Linked DNA regions of Homo sapiens: all the other regions are linked to region 3. Evidence: promoter capture Hi-C in 16 types of primary human blood cells and fetal thymus (Javierre and others, 2016). All regions are on one chromosome and are shown on one strand. The core of a region is centred on a gene start or on the middle of the fragment in contact, and the rest is flanking DNA. Distances in the headings are between cores, read along the strand shown. Region 1 overlaps SINHCAF (SIN3-HDAC complex associated factor). Region 2 holds the start of IRAG2 (inositol 1,4,5-triphosphate receptor associated 2). Region 3 holds the start of CCDC91 (coiled-coil domain containing 91).

The links. The method cuts DNA at HindIII sites, captures the fragments that hold promoters and counts their contacts. A CHiCAGO score of 5 or more calls a contact.
Region 1: a fragment that was not itself captured here is called in contact with the fragment with the promoter of CCDC91 in region 3 in 2 of 17 cell types (fetal thymus and naive CD4 T cells); the score reaches 5.1 in fetal thymus.
Region 2: a contact is called between a fragment that was not itself captured here and the fragment with the promoter of CCDC91 in region 3, in 3 of 17 cell types (naive CD8 T cells, total CD4 T cells and fetal thymus). The highest score is 7.6, in naive CD8 T cells.

Annotation. Positions count from the first base shown.
Region 1 is chr12:31,317,503-31,320,418 of GRCh38, reverse strand. All of the region lies in intron 1 of SINHCAF (SIN3-HDAC complex associated factor), which reads left to right. Among named protein-coding and RNA genes, the nearest start is that of FLJ13224, 5.4 kb to the left of the region's middle. The HindIII fragment of the contact is 2,624 bases long and covers 210-2,833 here.
Region 2 is chr12:25,050,526-25,053,225 of GRCh38, reverse strand. It overlaps IRAG2 (inositol 1,4,5-triphosphate receptor associated 2), which reads right to left and starts at 520. Exons shown (of 22, transcript NM_001366544.2): 1 at 270-520. RefSeq lists enhancers at 646-1,015, 1,056-1,165. The HindIII fragment of the contact is 399 bases long and covers 1,177-1,575 here.
Region 3 is chr12:28,189,081-28,191,780 of GRCh38, reverse strand. CCDC91 (coiled-coil domain containing 91) reads right to left here and starts at 1,325. Exons shown (of 13, transcript NM_018318.5): 1 at 1,140-1,325. It overlaps LOC729291 (a long non-coding RNA gene), which reads left to right and starts at 1,043. Exons shown (of 1, transcript NR_148936.1): 1 at 1,043-2,700. RefSeq lists silencers at 1-165, 849-1,278, 1,309-1,358. The HindIII fragment of the contact is 1,439 bases long and covers 525-1,963 here.

The sequences.
Region 1 (2,916 bases), core at 272-2,771, 3.1 Mb before region 3:
GTGTTCTAATAAAGGTATGGAAGGGTTTTGTAAAATAAGTAATTCTTAAGAGAATTTCCCAGGTCAAGGGGATAGAGGGTAAGCCGTCTCAGGCAGAAATAACAGCCTGAGTAGAGGGTGGCTAGTTATTAAAGTTTGTTTGACACTCCTAGAATATCAGAATTCCAAGTTGGGAGCAGCTGGTAGGCAGGAGCAGATCCTGAAAAGCTTTGAATTCCTTGCCAAGGAGTTTAGATACTATCATGAAGCCAGTGTTGGTACCTTGGAAGGGAAGATTAGTAGTTGAACTTTAGGAAGATATCACATGTTTAAAGGATGTAGGGAAGTCAGTTACAAGGTTCTGACAGGAGTTCATGCACCATGATGAGGAACAAACAGGCAGTGGGGATGGAAGTGAAGGAAGAAACAGAATTTCTAAGGACTTCACAATAAATTTGATGGAGGGCCATGCAGAGGGTGAAGGAAGAGCTCAGTTGGCTTCCAAGTTGTTTTTGTGTGACTGTGGATGACAACCAAGATAGGTAAATAGAGGAAGAGCAGATTTGGAGGGAAGATTATATAATCAATTCTCAGGGTATTTAAAGATTGGAATGGATTGGTGGTCAGTTGGCCATATTTATCCTAGAGCTAAGGGGAGAGATTGGACCAGGGAATGAATAATAGGTATTACCAATAAGGTTGGTTAGTAACTTCCTGCGAGTGGATTGCCCAAAGACAGAAAGCAAAATGATACCTGAAATGTAAGAGGAAAAAAAGAGAGAAAGAAGAAAGATTGGTGAGTAAAAAGAATTGTCAGAGCTGAGTGCATACCTTGTGCCGATCTTTGTGTTGATGTTGTGTTGATGCTTTACAGATACTATTCAGGAGATTTGGATTTGTCATTATTATTTTGAGACTGAGCTTTGCTCTTGTTGCCTAAACTGGAGTTCAGTGGTGCGATCTTGGCTCACTGCAACCTCTGCCTCTGGGTTCAGGCAATTCTCCTGCCTCAGCCTCCTGAGTAGCTGGGATTACAGGCGCACGCCACCAGGCTGGGCTAATTTTTTGTATTTTTAGTAGAAACGGTGTTTCACCATGTTAGCCAGACTGGTCTCGAACTCCTGACCAGGTGATCCACCTGCCTCTGCCTCCCATAGTGCTGGGATTACAGGCGTGAGCCACTGTGCCCGGCCTGTCATTATTTTATAGATGAGGAAACAGGATTAGTGAGGTTAAGGAACTTTCCTGAGGTTTGGGTCAAATCAGGTGTGTATACTATCATGTATCCATTTTCTTAACATTTTTCTCAAGTTTGAAAATGGGAGAACAGCTTCATAGAGGAGTATATGGGGCTTTTCATGACCTTAAAGTCTCCCTGAAAAGGCTAAGTTCCTCTTTTCCCACAGACCTGGGCTTAAAAGAAAATCTTTAGTAATCAGAATTTTACCTTCAGTTAAATTTGTTGTATATATCTTGGGATAGATAGCATTTATTTTTCTGTAATGTGCAACTCTTATAAATTCAAGGAAATAAACAGAATTTCCCAATGTTACAGAAGGGCAAATAAAATTAGGAGTGACTTCCTATTTAGTTGTAAAGACAGAAGCAGAAATATACTCCAAATTGACTCATTGCAGACCCAAGTATGGTTATATTTTCTAACTCATAATCATCCATTAAAAGCAAATAAATATTCTTTCTGACACTTTCAGTTTTTTTTTTCATGTACTGGAATTCCTCTTAATCTAGAATTGGGAGACCTAGTTTTGTTTCTCTTTTTTTTTTTTTCGCTCTACCAAAATTGGAGGGGCCTGGTGTTTTACACTATCTAAAGCCCAGAGACTTGAATTTGTAATTTTATTTTTAACCTATGCCATTTCAGTTGAAGACTTGTTTATTTCTGAGTTTGACCTCTTTCCTATATAGGATGAGTTTTAGGCTCTTCTGCCAAGTGTGGATTCCATAGACAGCCACAGTTATAAATGCTTTACCATATAATTTCTCAGAGACAGGGCACATGTTTGAAGAGGCTGTTGGCAAACAAGTGGGGTCTGCTACCCCTTTCTCAGTTTTATTCTAGACAGATTTACATTTATCCCTTAAAGTTAGCTAAATTCAGGAATTTTGCTGAGATGTAGGCTGCTATCTAGAAGCAGGTAAGAGGAAATAATGTCTTACTGCTCCATGGGTTTCCTTAACTGCAGATGAAACATGTCTCATTATTGGGGAATACTGCAGCCAAATAGCCTAGCCGCGGGAGAATACAAAGCATTTAGTCCTGTTGACCGTTTGTGAAAAGTGTTGCTCCAGTTACACTGTTAGTGTTTACTGGATGCTGTACTTAAATGTGATTAATGATAGCATATGATTGACTAAAATGGTGTCAGTGGTGGCATTACCAATTACAGGAACTCAAGTATCCCCACAGTTTGTGATCGCGAGTATTTTTTCGTGTTATTTCTTTTCCTTTCCCATCATCATGATTTCTAGTTTGGCTCTAAAGAAATGCATCTCCTTCACTTCAAAGTTGTCTTTGGTTGCTTAGTTCTTTTTGTCTTTGTTCACTGCTGCTTCCTTCCCACTTTACAAATCTTTCGCTTGTCTCCTGTCTGCAGTTTCCTTCCCATTCTGCTCTGTGTGTATTTAGATCTTACCAGTCTATTTCGTAGTCTCTCCCATGGAGTGTATTTTCTAATTTGTATCTCTCCATCTGTATGTCTTTGAGGAAGTTTATTTAAGCTCTCTGTGCTTTTTTAGATTACTCTTAAGGTGTGTCTTGATAACCAAGGTTATTGGAGAGTGATGCTCTTGGTTAAAAAAAAAAAAGCAGGAGGTAGTAAAGTGAAAGTAAGCTTCTTTTATGCTTGTACTCCTCAGAGGCAACCACTATTTACTATTTTTAAGAACCAATTTAAAAAGAAGTTTGTGTAGTTACAG
Region 2 (2,700 bases), core at 127-2,626, 3.1 Mb after region 3:
TTTAATTAATTTTAAAAGAAAAAAACAGCCACAGACAAAACCAGCTTATAATAAAAAGGCAAAAAGGGAAGTTAATGGTTAAACCCATGCATGCACCTAGCCACTCAGCAAACCTCTCTGAAAGCCCCACAATATTGCCTTCTCAAACCATTTCATTGTCATAAACTCAGGAATAATATCCTAGCTGTAATCTAGAAAAATGTCTGTAGTCCTATGCCCCGCCTGAGGGTGGACAAAAACTGGGTCATAAATGAATATTTGCTACTCACTCTTCAGTTTCCTTGTCTTCTGCTGAAGTGCCTGGCAAGTGTTCGATAATTCAGTATTTATAGTTTGAAGGTTCCGTTGTTCCGAAATTGCTTCCTCTAATTTATGCAGTAAAGACGTAGCTTTTTCACTGGCAGTGTGGGCTTCTCGATCTCGATCCTTACCCTGGACATGGATAGTTAGTGCTGGATTGTAGCAGTGTGGCCAGGAAAGAAAGCAATGGAGTGCTCACTCTTATGATGCAGGCAAAACTGAAAATGTGTTTTTCTTCTCAGGGAAGTGATAAGCCTCTCCTGAACTTCTGCAATTCTGTGTTTGCATGGGCTTGGTATGCCTGAGCTATTTCTACAGCGGTTAAAGTCCTGATATGTCAAGTTGCCTCTTTCTGCAGAGTCGCCTCTTTCATCAGCAGGCTGTTGATACCGCCTCTCTTACAACTCCCCCTTTACTTCCTCTGCTCACTGTTAGTCGCTAGGGACTGAACTTGCAGTTCCTCTTTGCTTTTTTTTTTTGTTTGTTGTTGTTGTTCCTCCTCCATTTTTATTTCATGGTTTGCAGGGCATCTGAGGAGATGTCCCCTGAATCTAATGTAGCCATGAGCCACCCTACCTGCTCCTCCACATCCTCCAGCCGTTGGCTGGTTTCTTGGAGCCTCTTCCTAAGGATGCCTTCCTGGTTGACAGCATCTTCCTGTAGTTGTTTAATGGCTTCTAGTTGTTTCTGACTGGAGTTAAAAAAAAAAAAAAAAAAAAAAGTCCAAACCGCAAGCTGTCAGTGACATTTCAACTAAGAGTCACCCTGTGAAATTATGACAAACTCAAACTTAACACCACTTCCTTAGAGATCAGAGGAAAAAGTGAAAGTATTTACATATAAATGCTTCACAAATATAAAATCTTAAGCAAAGCTTATTGGTCGCTTAGCCTGACACCCTCACTTTACAGATAAGGACTTCTAGTTTCATCTTTTACACTGGTGTGTTCAGTTCCCACCAGCTGCATTCATAGCACTTAGCATCAGTTGCCAGTTGCCAGTTACTCAGAAGATGGCTCTACAATGAGGTCAGGGTGACAGGTGCAACATTTACACATCACAGCTAGCTTTTACAGAAAAAGAAAGGAATGGGGTAAAGGTAGGGGGAGGGAAAAGAAAAGGAAAGAGAGCTTTGTTTCATGACCTTAGCCTTTCTCCTTAAGGGTTGTCAATCATAGTATAAACACGTGCCACGAGCACAGGAAGGACCGCCCCCAGGCACAGATGAAAGCTGGCGGTTGATATTTCTACTTTAGTCCTCTTTTTGCTGAAGCTTTTCTCCCCATCACCCTTCCCCACCACAGATCTCATGGTGCCATTACGTTACACCTCATTTGGATCCAATTCTAATCTCTAAAACATGTAAAAATGCACTTACTCTCTGTTAGCAGATGAGATTATTTAATGTGTGTTACATGCCAGTACCTCAATGATTATCTGGAAACAATCTGACTTGAATATGGACCTTAACTCAAAGTGGTGATAAATGTCGGGAGTTGCAAAACAGCAAGGAAGACATTGTCAGCCGTAGGCCTTGTGCATGCCTCTCAAACGTTAACATTTAGTCAGAATGCCACTGCACACTGGCACAAATCCAGCCCTGGTTACACGAAGGACCACATGAGAGGCAAGAATGGTCTCACAGAATGCTTACCATACTGGTAAACAAGCAAACAAAATCCTAAGCAAAAATAAAAACTGCCTACATCACCACACTTTCCACTGAGCGTCCTTCAATAGCTTATCGTTGTCTCTCTCACTCTCTTTTTCTCTCTTTTTCTTTAACTGTGGCAGGAACATTTAACAGGAGATTTACCCACTTAACAAATTTTTAAGTGTACAATACAGTATTATTAACTACAGGCATAATGTTGTACAGCAGATCTCTAGAACATCTTCATCTTGCATAACTGAAACTTTATACCTATTGAGTAGCAACTCCTCATTTCCCCTCCCCTAGCTCCTGGCAACCACTATTCTCTCTCTTTCTATTAGTTTAACTATTTTAGATACCTCAGAGAAGTGGGATCGTGCAGTATTTGTTGTTCTGTGACTCACTTATTTTACTTGGGATAGTGTCCTCCAGGTTTATCTATGTTGTCATATGTGGCAGAATTTCCTTCTTTTTAAAGGTTGGATAATATTCCCTTGTATTTATATACCAAATTTTCTTTATCCAATCATCCGTGGACATTCAGGTTGTTTCCAAATCTTGGCTATTGAGAATAATGCCGCAGTGAATATGGGAATGCAAATAGCTCTTCCAGGTGCTGATTTTAATTATTTTGGATAAATACCCAGAAGTGGGGTTCCTAGATCAGATGGTAGTTTAATTTTTAATATTTTGAGAAAACTCTGTAACTGTTTTTTTTTGTTTGTTTGTTTGTTTGTTTTTTTTGA
Region 3 (2,700 bases), core at 76-2,575:
AGTATAACCAATCCCCTCAACGCAATAGAAATTGTAGCAGAGGGCAATCAGGTGATCATTAAGTGTAGAACTCTCCGACAGCAGGGAACACAACAGCGAATTTGTTGTCAGTCCCTGTCACCCCACCCAACTAAATATTGTGGGGGGGGGAAGGGTTGCCTTAAATTGTGAAGTAAAATGTCAGCCCACTCCAATAACTCCACCACGCAACATGCAAACTGCTTCCAAAAACCATCATCCAACTCCCACCCGGATTAATATTTGGAGAGAAAGGTGGCATCAGTATCCGCACAGCTGAGAGGGGAGGGAAGGAAAGAGTCAGAATTCATAAGGGGCCGCTGAGTCACCTAAAATTGTGGCCAAGACTTTACCCTCCAGGAAATCGAGCTCTGCCCCAACTCTCATCAAGGAAGCAAGTGAGAGTAGCAGCAGCAACATCATCCTACCAAAAAAACACCAGCGCAGCTTTTAATAGAGTTCCACTCCTTAAAGTGAAGCCAAAAATAGGTTTCATGTCCAAAGCTTTCCTCCGCAGTAGGCGACACGCGCAGATGGAGAAAATATCTTTATTGTTGGGAAAGGGAGGCGTGCTAACGGGGACGAAGGATACCTCACCACTTGGCAAAGTTACTGGCTCCTGCCTTGACCCTGAAATGCCACTTTTATTGCAACATGTGGCCCAAGAAACTCTAAGGAAATGTGGCTGGCAGACGCTGTAGAGCTTTTACCCCAATGTACTTGGCAAAGTAAAAGGGGATACATAAACCAGGCGCGTTCTGTGTAATCTAAGCAAGAATCAAGGTCTCCGTTCGGTAGGCGCTTCGGTGACACAATAATCACGTGTTCGTGGGCGTAGACTTTCGAAAACACTCGATTCTGGGACGTGCAGATACCGGTACCCACCGGCGAGCGCAGGAACGAGTGGGCACTCCCACCCCCGGGAGCTGGCTCCGTTCCCGCAGGAGGTTGGTCACGCCCCCTGACTCCTGGTCGCTGCGACAGCCAAGGGCGAGGCCGCAGCAGGCGGGCTGCAGGCGGCGGAAGCTCGTCCGCGCTCCTCCCCCGGTGGGGCGCTCTCCGCTCGCCTCGCGCGGCCCCGACCCCAAGACCCAGGCCCCGGAAGGCGAGCGTTCACTTACCTGCTCCCCTCTCTCGCTCTCCGCTGCCGCCGCTGCGCCGCTCACCCACGCTGCCCGGTGAGCCACCCCCAGCACACAGACCCCTACGCGTACACCCGAGGCACGGCCCCAGGCCCTTGAGGGGAGACCGCGGCCCAGCCACACAGGTTGGGGTAGCCCACGCACCACCCGGCTTCGAACACCTCTGCCCCCGGAAGTTGATTTCCGCCAAGGCCCGCCCAACACAGCGCCCGTCACTCAACGTAAACACGCGCGTCACGTGGCCCCAGGCCGAGGCCCGGGTCGGGGCCCCATGTTCAGAGCCCTGCCACCCCAGCTTGAGCGTGGTCTTTGGAGCGTTGCCCTGTGAAAAGGGGTGACTTTGCCATGCTCCTTCCCAGTCTACCTCCTGTTAGTTACAGTTTCTCATTCCTCTTGAGTAGCAGGCCCTGTTTCTCCACCTAATCCCTGCAAGTAAACCGTCCCCCAAATCAAAATGAGTTCCATCTGGAACTTTGTAGGATTGGTCCTAAGAAGATCCCGCCGAATCTCTTCACCACTTCCTAGCAGAGCACAGTAAAACCGGGGACTAAGCAAAGTGGCTGACATGTAGTAAGTGCTCAAGAAATGGATGTTGACTAGATGCTACCTCTCATCTTTGCCTGTCTGAACTCTCAAGCACCGGATGCAAGTAGACTGAGAGCCTCCGCCAACCAGTAAGATGACTTTGGTCAAAGAATTCTGCTCTAGAGTTACTTTTGTTCTTGTCTTCAACTCCAGATCACAGCAATTCATACGTGCCATCTCTGTTGCAGAGTTTTCTTGCAAAGCCTTTCTTAAAAGCTTTCTGTCAAATAGCTTGTCCTGAAGCAATAGGAAAAGAATAGCGTAATTCACAGATTATTTATTTGAAAGGAAGGAATGATTATATAGATGTCTTTGTCCATTTCAGACTGTCAATAGCGATGAGAGAAACAGTCAACTAGCAGTCCACTCGTGAATGTTTCTTCTGTTTTTGCCATGGAAGGATTTTGAAGAACATTCATTCAACAAATTTTTATTGATTGTATACCACATACCTAGTCCTGGGCCAAGTTTTGACAATTCAAGAGTGAGCAAGGTAACACTCAAGATATTTGTCTTCAAGAAGCTTACAGTCTAGTGAGAAAGAAAGACACTAACCTGGGGACTTTGAGCATAAATCTCTGGAATATTCACATTCCTTGTATAACAAGTATTCTTTCATCCTTGGACACTGGGTTTCTCATCTGTTGAACAAAATTGGCTTAAACCTGTAATCTCTGTTCTGTACTGGAAGTGGAAAATATTAGCAAGGCATCCTGACAAGTCTGCCATAAGTGCTGGCCTAAGTAGTTAATGAGCAGTTTCAGTATTGAGCAAGTCACCTTGACTACATTCTTTTTCCAGCCCACCCCCTTCTTTATGCATACAAAAAACATTTCTATTGTAAGAAATGTAATGCTTTCTTACACATATTTTTTTATCTGTCTACTAGACTACCAAGTCAAGGACCACTTCTCACTTGTATATCCAGCAATCTACTCACTTCTCATTTGTCTTT